Linked DNA regions of Homo sapiens: regions 1, 2, 3, 5, 6 and 7 are each linked to region 4. The links are contacts of gene promoters, found by promoter capture Hi-C in blood cells and fetal thymus (Javierre and others, 2016). All regions are on one chromosome and are shown on one strand. Each heading gives the region's core, a stretch centred on a gene start or on the middle of the fragment in contact. The rest is flanking DNA. Distances are from core to core; before and after follow the strand shown. Region 1 overlaps SEC31A (SEC31 homolog A, COPII component). Region 2 overlaps LIN54 (lin-54 DREAM MuvB core complex component). Region 3 overlaps SEC31A (SEC31 homolog A, COPII component). Region 4 holds the start of HPSE (heparanase). Region 5 overlaps LIN54 (lin-54 DREAM MuvB core complex component). Region 6 overlaps COPS4 (COP9 signalosome subunit 4). Region 7 overlaps COPS4 (COP9 signalosome subunit 4).

Region 1 (3,433 bases), core at 585-3,084, 480 kb before region 4:
CCACCAATTTGAAGAGAAATACAAAAGTGTTCCTACTTCATCTGGACCATATCACTCACATGGGGATAATATTGTTGAGTTTGAACTCTTGGCATCTGGTGGTGGCCAGCAACTGGTCCAGGCCTGCCCTTGGGGAGCTGCTGTTTCTCGTACGGAATTTTAGGTGATTCATGTCCTGCTACAGGCTCTCCTTGTGCTCTACAAAGTCTGTCACGAAGCTGCATGATATTTGGCTAAAAAGGATTGGAAAAACAGCAGACTGTTGAGAGTTCACCCAGGTATATGACAGCATGTTAATTTTCTTAATCAGATTATTCATCAAGATATCCCTTTTTGTTCATAATGCTGGGTATTATACAATAGACCCTGACACACAGATTTGACATTGTGCTTTCTACTACTCAAGACTGGCACCAAAGGTCCATGACATACAGTGCAACTTGTAATTTAACTGAGGCAGAGATCTGAGTTATACCTACCTCATGGTTACTATGCAAGACCAATATCACTTATTACTACTCTTTTGATGTTTTCTTGTGGTTACCTAATGCTCATAAATTACAAAACTACTTTAAAAACTATAACTAAGGCCAGGCGCAGAGGTTCACGCCTGCAATCCCAGCACTTTGGGAGGCCGAGGCAGGCAGATCATGAGGTCAGGAGATCGAGACCATCCTGGCTAACACGGTGAAACCCCATCTCTACTCAAAATACAAAAAATTAGCTGGGTGTGGTGGCGGGCACCTGTAGTCCCAGTTACTCGGGAGGCTGAGGCAGAAGAATGGCGTGAACCAGGGAGGCGGCACTTGCAGTGAGCTGAGAACATACCACTGCACTCCAGCCTGGGCGACAGAGCAAGAATCCGTCTCAAAAAAAAAAAAAAAAAACTATAACTAAAAGAGGCCACCAAAGAGAATCAACTACTAAAGGTGGTTATTGAAGAAAATGGTGATTTAAGAAAGAGATGAAAATGTTAAAAGAGATTTTTGAAATAAAGATTAAGATGTGAAATTCAGATCTGTAGCTCATACAGATCTACATGCATAGAGACTTACAAAAGTATGAGGTGACCCTATATATGCTCTAAGTATTAACAAATAACAAAAAGGCAATGTGTTAAAATGTTTCAGCAAGATTTTAGTATCTTTAAAAATTATACATTCCTATATATTTGTTAAAGGTTTAAAGGGATCATTTAAATGTTTTAGGCATATTTTATTTGCCTTTTGGGGGGGAGAATTATATATTACAATGCTATCACAAAGTCTCAGGACGTATTCCCCCCACCAAAAAAGGCAGGGTCTACTGAGATAAATAGGAAACAACATCAAAATTATGCTTTTTGGCCTAAAGAATGTTCTTTAAAGTCCAAAAAAAAAAAAGCATGAAGAATAATGTATAGAAAATGGATGTGCTTATAAATGGTACTGAAAATGAATTAAGCTAGATGAGCTACGGGTCTTAAAGCAAATTAGTCTTAAGATAAAGGTTCTTATAATATACCTCAATATAACTATTTACTTATAACTTTTTACTTATTAGGTAAAAAGTCTTAACAAAACTAGTATGCCAAAGTCACCATAAAGGAAAAGATTATGTATCAGCTATTCTATCTAACATTCCCATCAACAATTCAGAAACAAATGAGATGGATCTTACAGCTAAGTGTATACAAAACCAACTAGAGAGTCCTACCTCCATAGTCCTGGAGAATATTATGTACTTTTACTCAATGAAATTTATCAATAATTCTCTAAAACAGACAAAATACTAGAAACAATTGACTAAAAAAATACATAAAATACAGAATAAAGTGATTAATAAAAAAGTACAGAGACAAGACTGTATCTGCAAGGCTCAAAATCAAGCTCCATCAGACACAAAATGCAGATATATTGTTGTGGAAAAGTTTCCTCAAACCTCACCCGTACTTTTACCCATGCTCCATAACTGGGTTTGGGTTTCCCTTTGTTGGGTTCCACAGCACCAATACCCTTATCACAGTACTTATATCACACTTCTGGAATCTCATGTTTACTTGTCCATAGCCAAATTGAGTTTGGAGGCTTCCTAGAGGAAGGATCTTGGCAATCTTATTCACCATTCTATACCCACTTGTTGAATTGAATTGAAACAAGTATAGTTTTGCCCAAGTTTTATTGTGCAATAAGTAAGGACAATCTAATTAGTTCCCTCTGCTCTGAATACATAAAAATATACTTGCCCACAGACAGTATCAAACTAAAATGGCATACAGAATGAACTTCAATACTATCTGGGATGGAACATATGGGATTTTAAAAATGTTAACAACTCCATTTGTTTGATTAAACATTAACATTTATAGCTTTTTGACATAAAATATTCCTACAAAGAACTTTGTATGAAGAATCAGCATTTGGCTTTAGAAATAAAAAGTTGGTCTTTTCCCTGTTCATTTTCCTAAAATACTATGTCGGTACAAAGGAATCTATCGCACTGCAAGATTATCCTATCTCTCTAACACAGCTTAGATACACCTAAAATGATCCCTGAAGAATTGTCAATAACATTTACCTGCAGTCAGGTTACAGAAATTCAACTGCTCCAAAACATTCTACCTACTAATATGTTTACATCTAATGCTAAGTGTTATCTACTGGACTCACCTTACTCAAACATTACAAAAATGGTCAATTCTAATTACCTGGTTGGTGTTGTCAGGAAGAAAAGCCAAGGCTGCAGCAATACTGCCCTGAGCTGCCAACAAATTGGCATACTGACTCATCTTCGCAGCCAAGAGAACTCCTACAGTACTAGTGTCCATGGCTTGAGTGAGTTGCACAGCTTTTCGCAGGATGACAACTTTCTCAATCAGATCCTAAATGAAAAAAATGAGTAACAAACAGAAATATCAAGACCATGTATGAGAGGAAGCAGGAAAAGATCAAGAGTTACTAAGATTTCTAAAACCCACTAAAAATATAGTACCTGTTATCATCCCTCCTAGAAAAGTACAGCCACTATTTAGGTAAGTGAAAAAGTAGTAAGGAGGAAGAAGGCCTCTTACTTATGGATAGGGTAGGATAGGAAGGTTACCACCTTTTCCTAAATATCCTTAAGCTACCAGATACTTGTCTAGTGAGCTAAAACAGGCAAATACTCAAAGTGAAAATGATAGGCAGATGTCTAAAGGTAGAAACTGTGTTCTAGCCTGTATGGGAGGAACTATGAGTGAAAATATCTGATATGGTTTGGTTGTGTCCCCACCCAAATCTCATCTTGAATTCTAGCTCCCATAATCCCCATGTGTCATGGGAGAAACCCAGTGGGAGGTAATTGAATCATGGGTCAGGTTTTTCCAGTGCTGTTCTCTTGACAGTGATCTGATGGTTTTATAAAGGGCAGTTCCCCTGCACATGCTCTCTTGCCTGCCACCATGTAAGACGTGCCT
Region 2 (3,450 bases), core at 315-2,814, 380 kb before region 4:
GATCCTCCCATCTCAGCCTCCTGTAGGTGGGCCTACAGGCATGCATCACTACGCCCAGCTAATTTTTTAATTTTTATAGAGATGGGGGTCTCACCATGTTGCCCAGGCTGATCTTGAACTCGTGGGCTCAAGCAACCCTCCCACCTCAGCTTCCCAAAGTGCTGGGGATTACAGGCTTGTGCCAGCATGCAAGACTGGAACGGGGAGTGACTGTTTAAAGGATATAGAAATTCAGTTTCACAAGAAGAAAACAGTTCTGGAGATGGATGGTTGTGATACTTACAGAACAATATGAATGTACTTAATATCACTGAACTGTATAATTTAAAAAGATGGTACATCCTATATTACGTATATTTTGCCACAATTTTAAAAAATTGAAAAAATAGCTGGGTACAGTGACTCACACCTGTAATCACAGCTACTTGGGAGGCTGAGATGGGAGGATCATTTAAGGCCAGGTGTTTAAGACCAGCCTGGGCAACATAGCAAGACTCTGTCTTTAAAAAAATAAAAATAAAGAAAAATAGATATCCACTTTGCAAGCTAAGTTATGAAAATCAGTCAGTATCGCCCTGGCATGCAATGGCTCACATCTGTAATCCCAGCAATGTGAGAGGCCGAGGTGAGCAGATCACTTGAGCCAGGCAGTTCAAGACCAGCATGGGCAACATGGCAAAACCCCATCTCTACAAAAACTGAAAAAATTATGCAGGCATGGTGGCATGTGCCTACAGTCCTAGCCCTGAGGTGGGAGGATTGTCTCAGCCTGGGAGGTGAAGGCTGCAGTGAGCCACGATCGCACCACTGCACTCCAGCCTGGGTGACAGAGCAAGACCCCGTCTCAAAAACAAAAAAAATCAGGATCAAAATGATATAGAATCAAATACCAATTTAACCATTTCATAAAGTTAAAAAAAACTATCTGTTCCTGTACTTAATTTGTACTAAAGGAATGTTACATGTAAAAAAATAACATAAAATTAAATGATTTTCAAAATAGATAAATATTGGAGTAAGGAAGACTTATCCAAGTGTGACTCAAAAACTAAAAATTCACACATGAAGAGACTAAATTTTGACTTATTTAATGTGAAATTTCTGCAAGGAAAAACATTATATAGAACAAACCACAGAGAAAAATATTTGTAACCACATTAATAATAAAGAAATAAGTTCCTTAATGTACCACAGACATTTTTAAGACCACAAGGGAAAAAAGACAATGCAATAGGCATGGAGTTCACAGAAAATAAGTCCAGAAGACAGATATGAATAATTTTTAAAAATACAAATTTATATGAGATTATTTATTTATTTATTTATTTATTTATTTATTTTTAAGACGGAGTCTCACTGGGTCTTCCAGGCTGGAGTTCAGTGGTGTGATCTTGGCTCACTGCAACCTCTGCCTCCCCAGTTCAGGTGACTCTCCCACTTCAGCCTGCCAAGTAGTAGGAAGTACAGGTGCGTACCACCATGCCCGGCTAATTTTTGTATTTTTAACAGAGACGGGGTTTCACCATGTTGGCCAGGCTGGTATATGACATTTTTTAATCAGTTAAATTGGCAAAGACTGAAAATGACTAATTAACAGGAGAACATAAAAACAGACCACACCCAACACAATCAACTGACCTCTAACAAAGCACCAGAAGCAATTTAATGAAGAATGGATAGTCTTTTTCAACAAATGGTGCTGGTATAACAGAAGGTCCACATGCAAAAAAAGGAATCTAGACACAGACCTTACACCTTTCACATAGGGCTCACAGACCTAAACATAAAGTGCAAAACTATACAACTCCTAGAAGATAACATTTGGTAACCTTGAGTTTAGCTCTATCTTTTTAGATACACTACCAAAAGGACAATCCATGAAAGAAAAAACTGGTAAGTTAAACTTCATTAAAGTTAAAAACTGCTCTGCAAAAACCACTGTTAATATGATTCAAGAACATGATTTTTTAAAAATACACTGTTAAAAGAATGAACAGGCCGGGTACGGTGGCTCACGCCTGTAATCCTAGCACTTAGAGAGGCCGAAGGAGGCGGATCACTTGAGGTCAGGACCAGCCTGGCCAACATGTTGAAACCTCGTCTCTACTAAAAATACAAAAATTAACTGGGCTTGGTGGCATCCACTTGTAATCCCAGCAGCTCAGGAAGCTGACGCAAGAGAATCACTTGAACCTGGGAGGTGGAGGTTGCAATGAGTCGAGATTGCGCCACTGCACTCCAGCCTGGGCAACAGAGCGAGACTCCATCTCAAAAAAATAACATAACATAACATAACATAACATAACATAACATAACATAACATAACATAATGAACAGACAAGCCATAGATTGAGAGAAAATATCTGCAAAACACATGGTAAAAGGCAACAAGAAAAAGGAGATCATAAAACTAAGAGAAATATCAATCATTTCCAAACTTATAAAGACAGACATATAGAACTGGATCTCAATTCAAACGTAGTGAAAAAAATATGATGACTGGGGAAATGTGAACACTAACTAGGTATTTAATAACATTAAAGGAGCTAGGCATGGTGGCTCATGCCTGTAATCTCTGCACTTTGGGAGGCCAAGGTGGGAGGATCGCTTGAACTCAGGAGTTCAAGACCAGCCTAGGCAACACAGCAAGACCCCTATCTCATTACAAAAAAAAAAAATTAAAAGACTGTGCGTAAGTTTTTTTCCCAAAAGTGTCCCTATCTTTTCTATACATAAAGACACATCTACAGATGAAATGACATGATTAACCTAAAAAATGAGAAGCAGGGTGACAAAAAATAGGCAAGTTGATAATTCCAAAGTTGGATGAAAGGTACATGGGGGTTAATTGCTATTTCAACCTTTTAATATATTTGAAATTTTTTTGAGATGGAGTCTTGCTCTGTCACCCAGGCTGAAGTGCAGTGGCACAATCTCAGCTCACTGCAACCTCCACCTCCTGGGTTCAAGTGATTCTCCTGCCTTGCCTCCCAAGTAGCACCTGCTACCACGCGCGGCTAAATTTTTTAGTATTTTTAGTAGAAATGGGTTTTTGCCATGTTGGCCAGGCTGGTCTTGAACTCCTGATCTCAGGAGATCCACCTGCCTTGGCCTCCCAAAGTGCTGGGATTACAGGCGTGAGCCACCATGCCCGACCTATATTTTAAATTTCTATAGTAAGAGTGTTTTTTATTTTTTATTTTTTGAGACTTAGTCTCGCCTGGCCAACATGGCCAACATGGTGAAATCCCGTCTCAACTAAAAAAAAAAAAAGACTGTTTTTTAAAATATGGCAATAAGGGCTGGCCATGGTGGTTCATGTCTGTAATCCCAGCACTCTGGAAGTCCAAGGCAGACAAATCATTTGAGCCCAGGAGTTCAAGACCAGCCTGGGGCAACACAGTAAAACTACCTGGGAGGCTGAGGTGGGAGAATCACCTGAGCCTGGGA
Region 3 (3,117 bases), core at 584-3,083, 450 kb before region 4:
AGGAGAAAATGAATAAAATCATTCATTCTTAAAGTCAAATAAATGTAGACAAAAAATTGAAATTATACACTTAATTTTTAATGTTTTCATAAACAATCCAAATATATTACTTTCCCACCACTCCTGGTAACTATGTATGACTTTGGTGTAATAGTATTTCATTTTTTATTTATACTCATATTTGCATATGTGATTTTGTAATCCTTAAAGAGTAAAAACTCTTGTAAGGTAGTGTAACAAAATATACTTGAGTTGTGTGTCAAAAAATATGAGCTTAAGAATGATTTTACCATTTAGAAACTGTGAGACCCTAAGTTACTTAATCTTCTTAAATTGCCTCTGGTTCATTGTAAAATAGAGCTAATCAATCACTTCCCTCGAAAGGTAAAAACACTCTTTATTTGACTATAGAAGGGTCTCATGCTTTGACCTTTGTCTGAAAAAAAAAAAAAGGGGGGGTCACTAACAAGTGGTCTGTTAAATAGTAAAGGTGTTAAAGGAGTCATGTGAAATTTTCTAAGAAAAAGAATGTATTCTAATGGTAGAAAAATGACATCAAGATTATAACAAGTACCCCTACTATTAGAGAATAAAATATATGGTCCAGAATGGAGATGAAATATGAAGGCAGAAAGGTATACGATGATACAGATGGTAGTAAGCAGAAAAACTACTAGACAAAAGGTATCTGGGGTTCCCATCCCACTGTGACAGCTCTGAAGAATATGAGCGGTCCCATGAAACTGCATGATTTGAGCTATATTCTGTCAGCTAAAGAGCAATCTCTTTAAACCCTGCTAATATATTGAGGCAATAAAGCTTATTTTATTACTGAAATGAAGACCTCCTTTCTCTGCATTACAATAGGGCATAAGTACTTGAAAGTATGATCCAAATACCTAGTTACCTAGTGTATTAGAAATCGTGTCAACAAAACTGTGAGATATATTTCTAAATATCGTAACAGAAGAAAATAAAAATAAGCTACCATTCAGAGATAATCACTATTAATACTTACGATGACTACTCCTTTTCTAGTCACATCTACCTTTTTGTAAACAGGCACAATAAAGGAGATAGAAAAAAGAACTCTATACAAAATTAGCCAGGCATGGTGGCACATGCCTGTAATCCCAGCTACTCGGGAGGCTGAGGCAGGAGAATTGCTAGAACCTAGGAGGCAGAGGTTGTGGTGAGCCGAGATTGCGCCATTGCACTCCAGCCTGGGCAACAAGAGTGAAACTCCATCTCAAAAAAAAAACAAAAACAAAAAAAACCACACACACACCAAAAAAACAGAAAAAAATGCTAGAAACTACAGCCTCTCCTTCCTACCTTACATGTAACAGCAATAAAAAAGCCAACAGAACATACTGGCCAAGCGTGATTCCTCATGCCTATAATCTCAGCACTTTGGGAGGCTAAGGTGGGTGGATTGCTTGAGGTCAAGAGTTCAAAACCAGCCTGGCCAACATGGCAAAACCCTGTCGCTACTAAAGACACAAAATTAGCTGGGCAAGGTGGTGTGCACCTGTAATCCCAGCTACTCGGGAGGCTGAGGCACAAGAATTGCTTGAGCCTGGAAGGTGGAGGTTGCAGTGAGCCGAGATCGTGCCACTGCACTCCAGCCTGAGCTATGAAGTAAGATTCTGTCTCAAAAAAAAAAAAGAAAAAAAAAAGTCAATAGAACACATAAACACTACTTTTACTTCCATAAAAATTCACTCACATGCTTTTTCACAAAATATTTCATGTTCTTGATGGTATTCCTTGTAGTTTCTAATAATGGCATAATTATAGACAAATTAGGAATCAAGAACAATATATAATTAAATAATCACATGAATTTAAAGCTGAACCTCATACCTGTGAGAAGAGGAGAATGTGGCACAAGATTTCATATCCAAGGATGGATCAGAGAGGTCTAATTCAAATATCTCAAGGGAAGCATTCGTACTAAATGTTGCATCCAATTGCTGAGCAGATGTTCCTATAGAAAATATATTTATGGTAACTATACACACAAAAATAAAAGATCAGAGAAACCATACAAAACAGAAGTTAAAAGCATGTTTTCCATTCTCTTGCTCATGAATGCTGCACATATGCCATTGAGCAGATGCTTAAATTACTATAGCAATGAGATTCTGGCACAGGGCTAGGAGAGGATGTTTATAAGAGTGGGTAGTGTAAATAATTTTTTAAGCCTGTATATATTTAAAAATCTCTGTAAAAATGGTCCCGTGATGGGGGCTGGGCACGGTGGCTCATGCCTGTAATCCCAGCACTTTGGGAGGCCGAGATGGGTGGATCATGAGGTCAGGAGATCAAGACCATCCTGGCTAACATGGTGAAATCCCATCTCTACTAAAAATACAAAAAATTAGCCAGGCATGGTGGTGGACGCCTGTAGTCCCAGCTACTTGGGAGGCTGAGGCAGGAGAATGGAAGGAACCAGGGAGGTGGAGCTTGCAGTGAGCAGAGATCACGCCACTGCATTCCAGGCTGGGCGAAAGAGCAAGACTCCATCTCAAAAAAAAAAAAGTCCCGTGATTTACTATATCTGCTTATAGACATATATGATATAACTATTTCTTTTTATATAAAAATGCTAACATCAAAATTGCTCTTCATTCATTCAAACTGATATTAACTGTTTTTTTTACATGCCATCTATTGTGCTTAATACTGGAGGAATAAAGATAAAATACAATTCCTGTGAAGGAAAATATTTTAGATGTAACACATCATGATCAAAATGCTATGGGAACACAGAGGAAGAACACTAAACTTGGCTGATAGAATGTCAGTAACTTGCCAGGGAGAGAGAGGCTTTCTAGAGAAGATAAAGCTTAAACTGAATAAGCTAGGTGCAGAAGAGAAGAAATTAGGTAACTCATACTATCTTCTCTCCTTTGAACTTACCTGTTGCTAGGTAAATGGGGTGATTCTGGGCAGGGCTCCATGCCTGCATGGCTGTACGATCTACTTCCTTTAACTTCATCCTGCTAAAGGGAATATTTTATACAGAAACAGCCTTGAATGACTTGAATGTCTAACACAGAACACAGATATTTTAAATAGAAACATACTGAACAAACCACTACAACATTAGTA
Region 4 (3,279 bases), core at 487-2,986:
AAAGGAGAGGTTAACTATGATCCAAAGAAACAGAAAACCGGTGAATGGCTACCAAATGCTCACCATGTCCTAGAAAGAAACAATTCGTTTGAAACGTCAAACACTTACTATGGGTCAAACACTGAGAAGCTCTTACCATATCATCAAATCCTCGGGCAATAATCCTTGAGGCAAGCTTGAGAAATTCCATTCTACAGCTGAAGAAATCAAGGTTGGTGTGGCCAAGAGATATGGAAAAACCAAGTCACTCATCTTTGCCAGAGCTGAGAGTCAAGCCAGGATGGTCTGTCCATCTCTTAACCAGTACACTACCCATTAAATTAGCGCTGGCAACTATAGTGTGGGCTCAGGGAGGACAGCATCTAGGTATTTGACACAGAGGTGAGATAATGGTGATCTTTCCCTCTATCTGGGCTGGTCAAGATGTGGCCATCTCTGGAGGCTCCCAGGGCCTAAATAAGAGGCCTAGAAGACCTGGGATTGTCCCTGTAGCTCCCCATCTTGGAGTCAGCCTGCATTCATGGGGCAGGAGCCCTGAACCTGCATCAGGTTCCTTCTTTCTCAGGTAAGGAAAAAACTTAGAGCTGATAAGGCAGCACCACATTTTGCAGCCCCATTTTGGAGAGACATCTTTTTATTAGGACTTTGTAAGTCACTGCAGTAGTCTCCTAGGTCTCATTTATTGAATATTTAGATTTTTATTCCTGTTCTGTGACGCCCTTTTCATCTGCCTAAAAAAAAAAAAAGAAAAGAAAAAAGAAAAAGAAAAGAAAAGAAAGAGAAATCTTCCTAACACAGTCTTAAATACAGAAGGCTATGCACAATCTTACTTGTCCTACACTGCACAGCAAATCAAGCACTCACAGGCCTTCAGGTGCACCTGCCTGGTTTCCCTCCTCTTGGCTAGGGAAGTACTGGGGCAAGTGGGCAGTTTCTTTTTCAAATTTCCACTTATACCTGACCTTAGGTGGTGCCTATTCAACACTTACAGAATGAATGAAACAAAAAGGCTCATTTAGAGTGGGCGCTAAACAATGTGTACACATGGACTTAGTGGAATAGTAGACACTGGAGACTCCAAAAGGTGGGAGGGTGGGAGAGGGATGAGGGATGAGAAATTACCTATTAGATACAATGTACAACATTCGGGTGACAGTTACACTAAGAGCCCAGATGCCACCACAATGCAATATACCCATGGAACAGAACTGCACTTGTAACCCCTAAATCTATTTTTTAAATGATACCCCCCAAAAAGCAGTTTGGGGTCTGAGAGTAAGGGAGGGAGAGGGAGAATGAGAGGCGGGAAGTGGGGTGGGGAGAGACAGGCGGGGAGGTTCCGGTGTGAAGTTGTTTCCGCGCAAAAGAAGGAGAGCGGCTGGCGGGGCAGACATAGGTGTCAGGAGGACAGGAAAGGGGACAGGACCAGGAGGCTGGCGCTTACCCCAGGAGGATGAGGAACCGCGGGTCCGTGGCCAGGTTGGCGTCAATGGTGACGGACAGGAACGAGGGGCTCACCAGGTGCAGCGGCTCCTGGGTGAAGAAGTCCAGGTCCACGACGTCCTGTGCTTGCGCAGGTCGGGGCAGGGCGCCAGGGGAGAGGGGACCCAGCGGCCCCAGGAGCAGCAGCATCAGCGGCGGCGGCAGCGCAGGCTTCGAGCGCAGCAGCATCTTGGGCTCACCTGGCTGCTCCCCCCGCCAGCTGCCGCGCAGCGGAGAGTCGAGAGCTCTAGCACTTCCTCCCGCCGAGCCCCAGCGCCCTTTTCTCCTTTCCTCCGCCCCGTTACGCCTCCTCACCCCTCCCACTGCGCCCTCCATCCCTCCCACTCCTCTTCTGCATCCCTCCCACTGCTCCCAATCCAACCCCGCCCCGCCTGCCCGGCTCTCTCCTACTTCCTTGCTCGCTTTCCCCTCGGTGGCGGTCACGTTCACTTACGAAATCACCCACACCCACTTGAAGGGTGCGGAGATGGCCGGGATCCAAGCGCCCGGGAGGCCTGGGGAGGAGCGCCCGGGGAGGAGCGCCCGGGGAGCAGCGCTGGGCATCCCGGACCAGGCTTCCTGACGCACGTGTTCTGCGCGCTCTCGTGGGAACCCAGCGTTTCCGACTCCCAGATCCCATTCTGATGGCGCCGGGTATCCCTCTGACCCTCGAGTAAAACCTCCAATGGAGTATTCATCCCTTCCTCTCCCATCTAGCTTATAAACACTTGCTTGTCACTTGAGCCAGCCAAAATCTGATTGTCCTCTGGCCAGGCAGTTTCTCAGGTATTTTACTTTTGCTTGAAAAAATCTGGCCTCAGCATACGCTAAACTGCAGCTGGAAAGAGATCAACCACCCAAAATTCTTTATCAACTTCTCATTAAGACAATATTTAGCAATCTTAAAGGGTTAGTTGCTCCAATGTCTGGAACTCAGGACCTGAAGCCCCCATACAAAGTGTAGAGTACGGACTGCCCCTGAATTTGGAGCCTTTGCCAAATTTCTCCTCTGCGCATTTATCTTTCGCTGTTGGTCAGACTTTTCTTCAGCTTTTCCTTGATGCTTACACTGATGTATAATCATAGCAAGCATCGCACGCTTAGTGCCTACTGTATGCCTGATACAGGTGCTTTACTTGTGTTCTCTTCCCTTCTCACAACCCTGCCAAGTGCATACTGTCCTTGTTTTACACATGCGGACCCAAGCTCTGAGACAGTAACTGGGTGAAGTGTCAGAATCGGGATGTGAAGTGTCAGAATCGGGATGTGAATGCAGTTACAAAACCTCGAGCAGATGGCAGTGTGTTTCAGCTGAAATGTAACTTCCCTCAAGGAAGCTTTCTCTCAATCTCCAGGCAGCTCTCCATGACACACTCTCATAGCATCCTCAATTTGTTAGACACTCTCGTAGCATCCTCAATTTGTTAGACACTCTCGTAGCATCCTCAATTTGTTAGTATTGTGATGTTGCTCAACATTGGCTTCATCTACTAGATTATATGCTCCACCAAAACAGAGATTAAGTTTGTCTCACACGCTATGCTAGCCATAGCTCAGGCATGTGATCATGTTGGTGCTTAGTAAGAGTCTAATAAATATTGGTTGAGTAAGCAAATAACACCAAAACCCTTAGATTTTTCCACTTGAGATTGTACCACCAATAAGGCAACAAATAAAAATAGATTATTTTGAAATGCATATCTAATTTGCATAAATCAGGCCAGGCATGGTATGTGATGCCAGTGATGCCATCATGCCTGTGATGCCAGCATTTTGGGAGGCCAAGGTGGGAGGATT
Region 5 (3,216 bases), core at 546-3,045, 340 kb before region 4:
CATGGTGGCTCACACCTGTAATCTCAGAACTTTTGAGAGGTCAAGATGGCTCACTTGTGGCCATGGGTTTGAGACCAGTCGGGACAACATATCAAGACCCCATCTCAACAAAATAAAGATAAAAATTAGCTGGGTGTGGTAGGGCCTGCTTGTAGTCCTAGCTCACACTCCCTTGACTTGGAGGCTGTAGCAAGCAAACCACGACACAGTGGCGTGAACACGACTCACTGAAGCGTCGAATTCCCAGGCTCAAGCAATCCTCCTGCCTCAGCCCCGCAAGTAGCTGGGACTAGAGGCATGCACCACGATGCCTGGCTTTTGTTTTGTAAAAATGAGGTGTCCCCGGCCAGGCGTGGTGGCTCACGCCTGTAATCCCAGCACTTTGGGAGGCCAAGGTGGGTGGATCACGAGGTCAGGAGATTGAGACCATCCTGGTTAACACGGTGAAACCCCGTCTCTACTAAAAATACAAAAAATTAGCCGGGCATGGTAGCAGGTGCCTGTAGTCCCAGCTACTCGGGAGGCTGAGGCAGGAGAATGGCGTGAACCCAGGAGGCGGAGCTTGCAGTGAGCTGAGATCACGCCACTGCACTCCAGCCTGGGTGACAAAGCGAGACTCTGTCTCAGAAAAAAAAAAAAAAAAAGAAATGAGGTTTTACCACGTTGCCTAGGCTGGTCTCAAACTCCTGAGCTCAAGTGATCTGCCCAGCTTGGCCTCTCAGCATGCACCACTGTGCCTGGCCCATTTTTTATTTAAATTAACTATTATCTTTACCTCTTTGCTTCTGTTTGATTTGTTCTTCTTTTTCTAGAATCTTTTTTTTTTTTTTTGAGATGGAGTTTCACTCTTGTTGCCCAGGCTGAAGTGCAATGGTGCAATCTTGGCTCACTGCAACCTCCGCCACCTGGGTTCAAGCGGTTCTCCTGCCTCAGCCTCCCAAGTAGCTGGGATTATAGGCATGCGCCACCACCCCTGGCTAATTTTTTGTATTTTTAGTAGAGACAGGGTTTCTCCATGTTGGTCAAGCTGGTCTCAAACTCCAGACCTCAGGTGATCCGCCTGCCTCGGCCTCCCAAAGTGCTGGGATCACAGCGGTGAGCCACCGCGCCCGGCTAGAATCTTAAGATGGAAACACAGATCAGGGTTCACCAAAATACTAAATGATGCCCATGGTCTTTATATATTGCTTCCTACCTAAAAATGGTTTTTTGTTTGTTTCTTTGTTTGTTTTTGAGACAGTGCCTCACTCTGTCACCCAGGCTGGAGTGCAGTGGTGTGATCTTGGCTCACTTCAACCTCTGCTTCCCAGGTTCAAGCAACTCTCCTGCCTCAGCCTCCCAAGTAGCTGGGATTAGAGGCGCATGCCACCATGCCGGCTACTTTTGTATTTTTAGCAGAGATGGGGTTGCACCATGTTGGTCAGGCTGGTCTTGAACTTCTGATCTCAACTGATCCACCTGCCTCAGCATCCCAAAGTGCTGGGATTACAGGCATGAGCCACTACGCCTGGCCTGATATTTACATTTTTAAATGGTTGGGGCAAGGGGGAATATGACAGACTTACATGACTTACAAAGCCTCCAATATTTGCTACCTGGAGCTTTACACAAAAAGTCTGTCAACTCCTGGTTTAAATGATTGATTGATTTTAAAACTTTCTTCTTTTTTACAGTAAGCCTTTAATATGAAAACTTTTCCCCAAAGCTCTTTAGATGTATTCCATTAATTTCAATACGTTTTTATTATCATTCACTTCAAATGTTTTCTAATATTGCTTGTGATTTTACCTGACACATGGATAATAAAGAAGTGTGCCATTTAATTCCCAAGCACTTGGAGATTTTCTAGCTATGCTATTATTATTGATTACTAATTTAATTATAGTATTGTCAGAGAACATAATACTCTTTAACATTCTCATCATTTGAAATTAGAGACTTATTTTTTGACTCAGTATACGGTCTCTCTTGGTGAATCCTCCTTGTGCATTTTAAAAGAATTTTTTTTTTTTTGAGACAGAGTCTTGCCCTGTCACCCATGCTGGAGTGCAGTGGCGCAATCTGGGCTCACTGCAACCTCCACCTCCCCGGTTCAAGCAATTCCCCTGCCTCAGCCTCCCAAGTAGCTGGGATTACAGGTGCATGGCACCACGCCCAGTTAATTTTTTTGTATTTTTAGTAGAGACAGGGTTTCACCATGTTGGCCAGACTGGTCTCGAACTCCTGACCTTAGGCAATCCGCCCTCCTTGGCCTCCCGAAGTGCTGGGATTACAGGCATGAGCCACCTTGCCCAGCCAAGAACATTTTTTTTAATAGTTGCTGAGGGTAGTATTCTATTTATGTCAGTTAGCAAAAGCTGGTTGATAGAGTTATTCAGATCTTTGATATCCTTAATAAATTTTTAGGGTGTTAAAATCCCCAAATATGGTGGTGGATTTGTTTACGTCTCCCCTTCTGCACATTTTTGCTTCATATATTTTGAAGTTCTGTTGTCAGAAGAACATACGTTTTTACCTGTCCTGTTAAAAGAGACTGAGAATTATAGGAGTGGGACTCTCCCTTTGAACTAGGAGCAAAGTCCAAACTTCTAACAAGAAAAGGTCTGGGCCAGGTTCAGTGGCTCACACCTGTAATCCCAACACTCTGGGAGGCCAAGGCAAGAGGACTGCTTAAGTCCAGGAGTTGGAGACCAGCCTGGGCACAACATGGTAAGACCTTCTTCTCTACAAAAAAATAATTTTTAAAAATTAGCCAGGCGTGGTGGGGCATGTCTAAAGTCCCAGCTACTCGGGAGGCTGAGACAGGAGGAAAGTGTAATCTCAGAAGTTTGAAGCTGCAGTGAGGTATGATAGTGCCACTGCACTCTGGCCTGGGTGACTGGGTAAGATCCTGTCTCTGGGGGGAAAAAAATTAATTTAATTTAATTTTAATTTATTTTTAATTTAAATTTAATTTTTTTTTAAAAAAGGTCTGATTGGTTTGGCCAGAGTCTATGTAATAGACAGAGACTATTCCAGAGCCAGGATAGCTCATAAACTACAGAACAGAATATAGATGACTGTCTTATGATTACACATCCTTATCTCTTTTTTTTTTTTTTTTTTTTTTTTGGGATGGAGTCTCGCTCTGTCACCCAGGCTGGAGTGTAGTGGCACAATCTCAGTTCACTGCAACCTCTGCCTCCAGGGTTCAAGCAATTCTCCTGCCTCTGCCTC
Region 6 (3,090 bases), core at 319-2,818, 270 kb before region 4:
CAAGTAGCTGGGATTACATGCATGCGCCACCACGCCCGGCTAATTTTGTAATTTTAGTAGAGACGGATGTTGCTCAGGCTGATCTCGGACTCCTGACCTCAGGTGATTCGCCCCCCTCAGCCTCTCAAAGTGATGAGATTACAGGCGTGAGCCACAGTGCCTGGCAATACAATCCTTTTAACTGGGTATACTGCTGTACTACTTAAAAAATATATATTATGGCTGGGCATGGTGGCTCATGCCTGTAATCCCAGCACTTTGGGAGGCTAAGGCGGGAGGATCTCTTCAGCCTGGGAGTTTCAGACCAACCTGTGCAACATAGTGAGGCCTCATCTCTACAAAATATAAAGAAAAACAGCTAAGCATGGTGGTACATACCTGTGGTTCTAGCTACTCGGGAGGCTGAGGTAGGAGGATTGCTTGAGCCCAGGGGGTCAAGGCTACAGTGAGCCGTGATTGCCCCACTGCACTGCGGTTTCAGTGACAGTGTAAGACCTTGTTAAAAAAAAATTGTGATAAATATATAAAACATAAAAATTACCATTTTAACCATTTTTGGGTGTGCAGTTCTGTGGCATTACTTTCACATTGTTGTGCAGCCATCACCAACATCCATCTCCAGAACTTTTACATTTTCCCAAACTGAAACTCTGTACCTATTAAACAATAACTCCTTATTCTTGCCTCCCCTCTGCCTGCTGTACTACTTTTTGACATGGGATAGATTGGGAGAGGAACAGACTGAGGAGAGAAGTTTTTCTTTTTTCTTTTTTTTTTGTTAGTTACAGTCGTGCTCTGTTGTCCAGGTTAGAGTGCACTGGTGCAATCATGGCCCACTGCAGCCTGGAACAAAGTAACTGGGACTGCAGGTGCACACCACCATGCCTGGTTAATATTTTAATTTTTTGTAGAGTTGGGGTCTCACTGTGTTGCCCAGGCTAGTCTTGAACTCCTGGCCTCAAAGAATCTTCCCACCTCAGCCTTCCAGAGCACTGGGATTACAGACATGAGCCACTGTGCCTGGTTAAGCAGTCCCTTTTTTTTTTTTTTTTTTTTTTTTTTTTTTTACTTTTTGAGACAAGGTCTCACTCTTTTGCCCAGGCTGGCGCTGGCATGATGCCATAGCTCACTGCAGCCTCCACCTCTTGGGGATCCTTCTACCTCCACCTCCCCAGAAGCTTAGGCATGTGCCACCACACCCTGCTAATTTTTAAATTTTTTTGTAGAGACAGGATCTCTCCATTTTGCCCAGGCTGGTCTTGAACTCCTGGGCTCAAGCAGTTCCTCCCATCTTGGCTTCCCAAAGTGCTGGGATGATAGGGGTAAGCCACTGCACCTGCCTGCTTTTTTGAACATATTAAATTTGAGATATTTATAAAATTACTGGATTGGATATTTAATTTAGGTAGTTGGCTGTGTAAGTCTGAATTCAAAAGGGAGATTTAGATTAGAGATATGTGATCATTATCAGCATTTTGATGGTATTGAGACAATGTAGGATAAAAAGAGATGAAGGTGCAAAATTAAACCCTCTAATATTTCAGAGAAGGAAAAGAAGGAGGAAGCAGCAAGGTAGACTGGGAGATAGGAGTTAAGTGAAAAACTAGCAGATCGTGGGTGGAATTCTGGAAAAGGAGAAGTGAGGCATTGTAAGAAAAAGAGGTTCTCAGAATACTTCCCTTGAAGTCTCCAAGTATATTTTGTCCCCTGCACTCATTATAGTAGTTAAATGTTCAGCAGAAATATGTAAGCATTGGGTGAGCCCAGTGGTCTAATACATTCAAAGTAGGACCCTGGGTCCAGAACATTATGAGATACTGTATGACCTCACTTAAAAGAGGATTCTATGCCTGATCTTTCAGGAGGGTTAGCCGGATCCTGGATCTGGATCTGGATATTTCTCACATTTGCCTTGGTTTGATGCTCCTGGAGTTCCCAAAAGAATAGAGATCACTTTATCAAGCTTGCAGAACAGGTTGCATGATTGTTGTGCTGCTGCTTGCTAGTAAAAGTTTATGCTTGTAGAAAGAAAAGTTAATGGGCTGGTGCCGCGGCTCATGCCTGTAATCGCAGCACATTGGGAGGCCCAGGTGGGCGCATCACTTGAGGGTAGGTGAGAACTGCCTGGCCAACATGACGAAACCCTGTCCCTACTAAAAATACAAAAAATTAGCTCGGTGTAGTGGTGCACACCTGTAGTCCCAGCTGCTCAGGATACTTAGGCATGAGAATCACTTGAACCTGGGAGGCGGAGGTTGCAGTGAGCAGAGATTGTGCCACTGCATTCCAGTCTGGGCAACAGAATGAAACTCTGTCTCAAAAAAAAAAGTTAATTTGATAGCCTGAAGAAGCAAGATTCTAAACCCAAAGGGGTTAGATCTATATGCTTAATAATTACTTGCCAATCACTCATTTGCTAAATGTTATTTTTATTTAATTGTACATTAATGAAACTACATCATATATTGGCTACTTTTAAAATTTTGATCAGAGGAGTTAAAGAGGATGAGTTATTACGTGCCTAGACATTTTCAGAAAAAATGATGCATCTTTTTAGAGTATAAAACTAGTTTCAAACTTGTAACTGTCTTATTTATGTTTAAGGTTCCAGCATCTTGGACAGAGCTGTTATTGAACACAATTTGTTGTCTGCAAGCAAATTATATAATAATATTACCTTCGAAGAACTTGGAGCTCTTTTAGAGATCCCTGCAGCTAAGGTATCTTCTTGATTCCAATACATTTAAAAAAAAGTTAAGAGATGAAACTATTAAAATAATGAGAAAATAAAATAAATGTTGGAAACAACATTTATTATCTTCCAACAAAATAAATGTTGGAAACAACAACAGAATTACACCTAAAAAGCCACAAGTAAATACATTCTTTAGAAGTTAAAATAGGCCTAGTGTTTATTAGTGGAATTGTCTTAGTGTTTTTTGGTGTTTTAAATTGTGTTTTGTGATAAAGTGACCTAGAATAGAAGTCTTTCAGGAGTTTCAGGTTATGACACCCATTTTCTGAGAATGTCTTTGTTTGGTGTCTGTTTAAATCCAACAAAGTACCAATGACATTCAGAGAGTATTGCAG
Region 7 (3,465 bases), core at 162-2,661, 290 kb before region 4:
CTTCAGATAGTGATTATTTTTGCCTAGAATGCCTGTCTTCCTACTGTTATTAAATTGAAATACTTAGAATGTTTAAAGATCAACCCCATCCAATGATTTCTCTCTCCTAAAAATTATATTAGCACTTACCTGTTTTTTTTGTTTGTTTGTTTGTTTTGTTTTGTTTTGAGATGGAGTTTCACTCTTGTTGCCTAGGCTGGAGTGCAGTGGCGCGATCTCGGCTCACTGCAACCTCTGCCTCCCGGGTTCAACCGATTCTTCTGCCTCAGCCTCCCAAGTAGCTGGGACTACAGGTGCATGCCACCACACCCGACTACTTTTTTTTGTATTTTTAGTAGAGACAGGGTTTCACCATGTTGGCCAGGATGGTCTCGATCTTTTGACCTTGTGATCCACCTGCCTTGGCCTCCCAAAGTGCTGGGATTACAGGCGTGAGCCACCGCGCCTGGCCAGCACTTACCTGTTTTTAAGATTTTGTCTTTAATTTTGTGTAGCTTCATTATGATATGTCTGTGGATTTGTTTTTACTTTTCTATGTCAGTTACCCTTTGCTGTGAAATAAACCCCAAAACTTAGGGCTTAAAACAACAGTCACTTATTTAGCTTATAATTCTGTAGGTTGGTAGTTTGGATTGGGCCCAGCTGTATGGTTCTTTTCTGCTCCACGTGGTCTTGGTTCCACATGGGCTCCCATGTGGGTCTATAGTTAGCTGCCAGCCAGGCCAGGTAGGCAGCTCTGCTTCTGTGGATTGGCTGGCTTGTTGGCTGGGGCAATATAGTTGACTGGGCTACATATCTCATTAGCCAGTATGTTAGTCTGAGCCTGTTCATGTGACAGCAGCAGGGTTCCAAAAGACAAACACATACAAGGCCTCTCGAGGTCTGGGCTCAGAACTAGCACTTCATTTCTACCACGTTTTATTGGTTAACCCCAGATTCAAGGGGTAGGGAAATAAACTCTACCTTTTGATATGAAGAGCTACAAAGTTGTATTGTAAAGGGACATGGGTACTGGGAGTGAAATTATATTGTGGCCGTTTTTTGTAAGCACTCTGTCACATTATCCTGGTTAAGCTTCACTGGGTTTCCTGAATCAATGGATTAAATCATTTCATCAGTCTTGAGATGTCTTCAGTTATATCTCTTTATTTTATTTTAGAGACAGGGTCTTGCTCTGTTGCCCTGGCTTGAGTGCAGTAGAGAGATCATGGCTTACTACAGCCTTAACATGCTTGGCTCAAGCAATCTTCTCGCCTTAGCCTCCTGAGTAGCTGGGACTATAGGCACGTGACACCATGCCTGGCTAATTTAAAAACATTTTTTTTGGTACAGATGGGGTCTCCCTATGTTGCCCAGGCAGGTCTCGAACTCCTGGGCTCAAGGGATTCTCCTGCCTCGGCCTACAAAAGTGTTGGGATTACAGGTGTGGGCTACTGTGCTTGGCCTGTATCTCTTTAAATGTTGCCTCTGCCCCATTCTGTTTCTCCTCTAGGCTCCGGTGAAATCCCTGTCAGGCCCACTGACTATAACCTCTAGGCCTCTTACTCTGTCTTTTCCATTTCAATGCTTTATTCTGGATTAGTTCTTCAGGCCTACCTTCTAGTTTATCACTTCTTCAACTGTGTTTAATCTGCCGTTAAGTACTCCATTGAGTTTCTAAGTTGGGTTGTATTTTTTAGCTCTGTAATTTCTGGTGGTTCTTTTTTCCAATGATACTTTTTATGGCTCCTGGTCTGTTGCTGAAACTTTAAAGCTTGTCTTTATCCCCATGAACATTGTAAGCATAATTGTATCATGCTCTTTCTGATAACTCCAGTCAGTATTTGACGTTTTGGTTGTTGCGATTGTCTGTTGCTTTTGTTGATTCTAGAGAGAAATTTCATTACCTGAGGGTGCTAACAGTGTATAATCAAGGCTTCAGAATTTTTTTGGTTTACCTGGGTGGTCTTGGGATAGAATTTGTAACCTTACTTCCAAAGTGTGTGTCTCCTCCTTTGGCAGAATATGGAACTTCCATTCCCATTTGTGCAGCTCTATTAGTCTGCCAGAAATGGCAGCTTGCTTCTCAGTGCTTCCAGCAGATTCGCAGTGAGCCCACCTTCTCCTCCCTACAAGAAGTGCCACTCTACCTCTCAGCCATCTTTCCACAGTCAGCAAATGCCTTTAGACAGAATATATGGTTTATCTTATTTTCCTCATTTTACCTTTCTTGTTAGGATTTTATGCAATTACATTTTTTTTTTCATTTCTTTCAGCTTTTTATGTTGGCTTTTTTTTTTTTTTTTTTGAGGGAGGGTTGGTCCAGTCGTTTAGTTCACCATTACTGTAAGTGGAAGATCTGTTAATACCTACCTTTACCACCCATTGTGATCTTAAATGATGACTGTGGTACATTTTCATGCTTTATTTATCTCCAGATTCCTTTCAAGTGCCAAGAAATTAAGAATCAACATACTGAATTTGGTTCATATACATTAAAGATGCTCAATTCACTGATGATAAATGGATAGGAGAGATGTATGATGCCTTAGTAATAAAACTTATTTTCCTCCATAAGTTTTTTTTTTTTGTTTTTTGTTTTTTTTTTTTGAGATGGAATCTCACTCTGTCGCCCAGGCTGGAGTGCAGTGGCATGATCTTGGCTTACTGCAATCTCCACCTCCCGGGTTCAAGCGATTCTTCTGGCTCAGCCTCCTGAGTAGCTGGGACTACAGGCACACGCCACCACGCCCGGCTAATTTTTGTGTTTTTAGTAGAGACAGAGTTTCACCATGTTGGGCAGGCTGGTCTTGAACTCCTGACCTCAGGTGATCCGCCCACCTCAGCCTCCCAAAGTGCTGAGATTACAGGCGTGAGCCACTGCGCCCGGCCAAATTTTTTTAAGGAAGAAAATATTTGGCACTTGTCACATTCTCCATATCAGTCACATTTCTCTTTGTATACTGAGTACTCATATAAAAAGCTATTATTATCTACGAAGCCTTATTTGACAAATCTAGTCCATTTTTGTTTTACTCTCACTCTGTCACAGGCTGGAGTACAGTGGCTCACTGCAGCCTCCACCTCCTGGGTTCAAGTGATTTTCCTGCCTCAGCCTCCCGTGTAGCTGGGACTTACAGTTGTGCACCATCACACTCGGCTAATTTTTGTATTTTTAGTAGAGATGGGGTTTCTCCGTGTTGGCCAGGCTGGTCTTGAACTCCTGGCCTCAAGCGATCGTCTTCCTTGGCCTCCCAAAGTGCTGGGATTGCAGGTGTGAGCCACTTCACCTGGCCTTACTCTCTTTTGAGTTAATATATTACCTCTTCATTTATCATATTGCTTATATTGTTCAGTTTTATCATAACTTTTGTTTTTGTATTATTGTAATTTAATACTTTTTTTTTTTTTTGAGATAGAATTTCGCTCTGTCACCCAGGCTGAAGTGCAGCAGCGGGATCTCAGCTCACTGCAACCTCTGCCTCC

What was found. The method cuts DNA at HindIII sites, captures the fragments that hold promoters and counts their contacts. A CHiCAGO score of 5 or more calls a contact.
Region 1: a contact is called between a fragment that was not itself captured here and the fragment with the promoter of HPSE in region 4, in 2 of 17 cell types (neutrophils and total CD4 T cells). The highest score is 5.7, in neutrophils.
Region 2: a fragment that was not itself captured here is called in contact with the fragment with the promoter of HPSE in region 4 in 1 of 17 cell types (total B cells); the score reaches 5.6 in total B cells.
Region 3: a contact is called between a fragment that was not itself captured here and the fragment with the promoter of HPSE in region 4, in 3 of 17 cell types (total CD8 T cells, neutrophils and activated CD4 T cells). The highest score is 7.6, in total CD8 T cells.
Region 5: a fragment that was not itself captured here is called in contact with the fragment with the promoter of HPSE in region 4 in 3 of 17 cell types (neutrophils, total CD4 T cells and naive B cells); the score reaches 6.8 in neutrophils.
Region 6: a fragment that was not itself captured here is called in contact with the fragment with the promoter of HPSE in region 4 in 4 of 17 cell types (M0 macrophages, M2 macrophages, total CD4 T cells and 1 more); the score reaches 6.9 in M0 macrophages.
Region 7: a fragment that was not itself captured here is called in contact with the fragment with the promoter of HPSE in region 4 in 11 of 17 cell types (M0 macrophages, total CD4 T cells, non-activated CD4 T cells and 8 more); the score reaches 7.8 in M0 macrophages.

What each region holds. Positions count from the first base shown.
Region 1 is chr4:82,848,745-82,852,177 of GRCh38, forward strand. It overlaps SEC31A (SEC31 homolog A, COPII component), which reads right to left. Exons shown (of 27, transcript NM_001077207.4): 19 at 2,687-2,860; 20 at 60-233. Among named protein-coding and RNA genes, the nearest start is that of SEC31A, 41 kb to the right of the region's middle. The HindIII fragment of the contact is 6,463 bases long and covers 1-3,433 here.
Region 2 is chr4:82,953,094-82,956,543 of GRCh38, forward strand. All of the region lies in intron 4 of LIN54 (lin-54 DREAM MuvB core complex component), which reads right to left. Among named protein-coding and RNA genes, the nearest start is that of THAP9-AS1, 54 kb to the left of the region's middle. The HindIII fragment of the contact is 5,227 bases long and covers 1-3,450 here.
Region 3 is chr4:82,878,933-82,882,049 of GRCh38, forward strand. It overlaps SEC31A (SEC31 homolog A, COPII component), which reads right to left. Exons shown (of 27, transcript NM_001077207.4): 2 at 2,926-3,008; 3 at 1,867-1,990. The coding sequence starts at 3,004. Among named protein-coding and RNA genes, the nearest start is that of SEC31A, 11 kb to the right of the region's middle. The HindIII fragment of the contact is 2,032 bases long and covers 818-2,849 here.
Region 4 is chr4:83,333,112-83,336,390 of GRCh38, forward strand. It overlaps HPSE (heparanase), which reads right to left and starts at 1,737. Exons shown (of 12, transcript NM_001098540.3): 1 at 1,445-1,737. The coding sequence starts at 1,671. The HindIII fragment of the contact is 2,644 bases long and covers 174-2,817 here.
Region 5 is chr4:82,992,403-82,995,618 of GRCh38, forward strand. All of the region lies in intron 1 of LIN54 (lin-54 DREAM MuvB core complex component), which reads right to left. Among named protein-coding and RNA genes, the nearest start is that of LIN54, 17 kb to the right of the region's middle. The HindIII fragment of the contact is 4,223 bases long and covers 1-3,216 here.
Region 6 is chr4:83,063,834-83,066,923 of GRCh38, forward strand. COPS4 (COP9 signalosome subunit 4) reads left to right here. Exons shown (of 10, transcript NM_016129.3): 8 at 2,605-2,720. Among named protein-coding and RNA genes, the nearest start is that of COPS4, 30 kb to the left of the region's middle. The HindIII fragment of the contact is 785 bases long and covers 1,177-1,961 here.
Region 7 is chr4:83,038,492-83,041,956 of GRCh38, forward strand. The region is part of intron 1 of COPS4 (COP9 signalosome subunit 4); the gene reads left to right. Among named protein-coding and RNA genes, the nearest start is that of COPS4, 5.0 kb to the left of the region's middle. The HindIII fragment of the contact is 679 bases long and covers 1,073-1,751 here.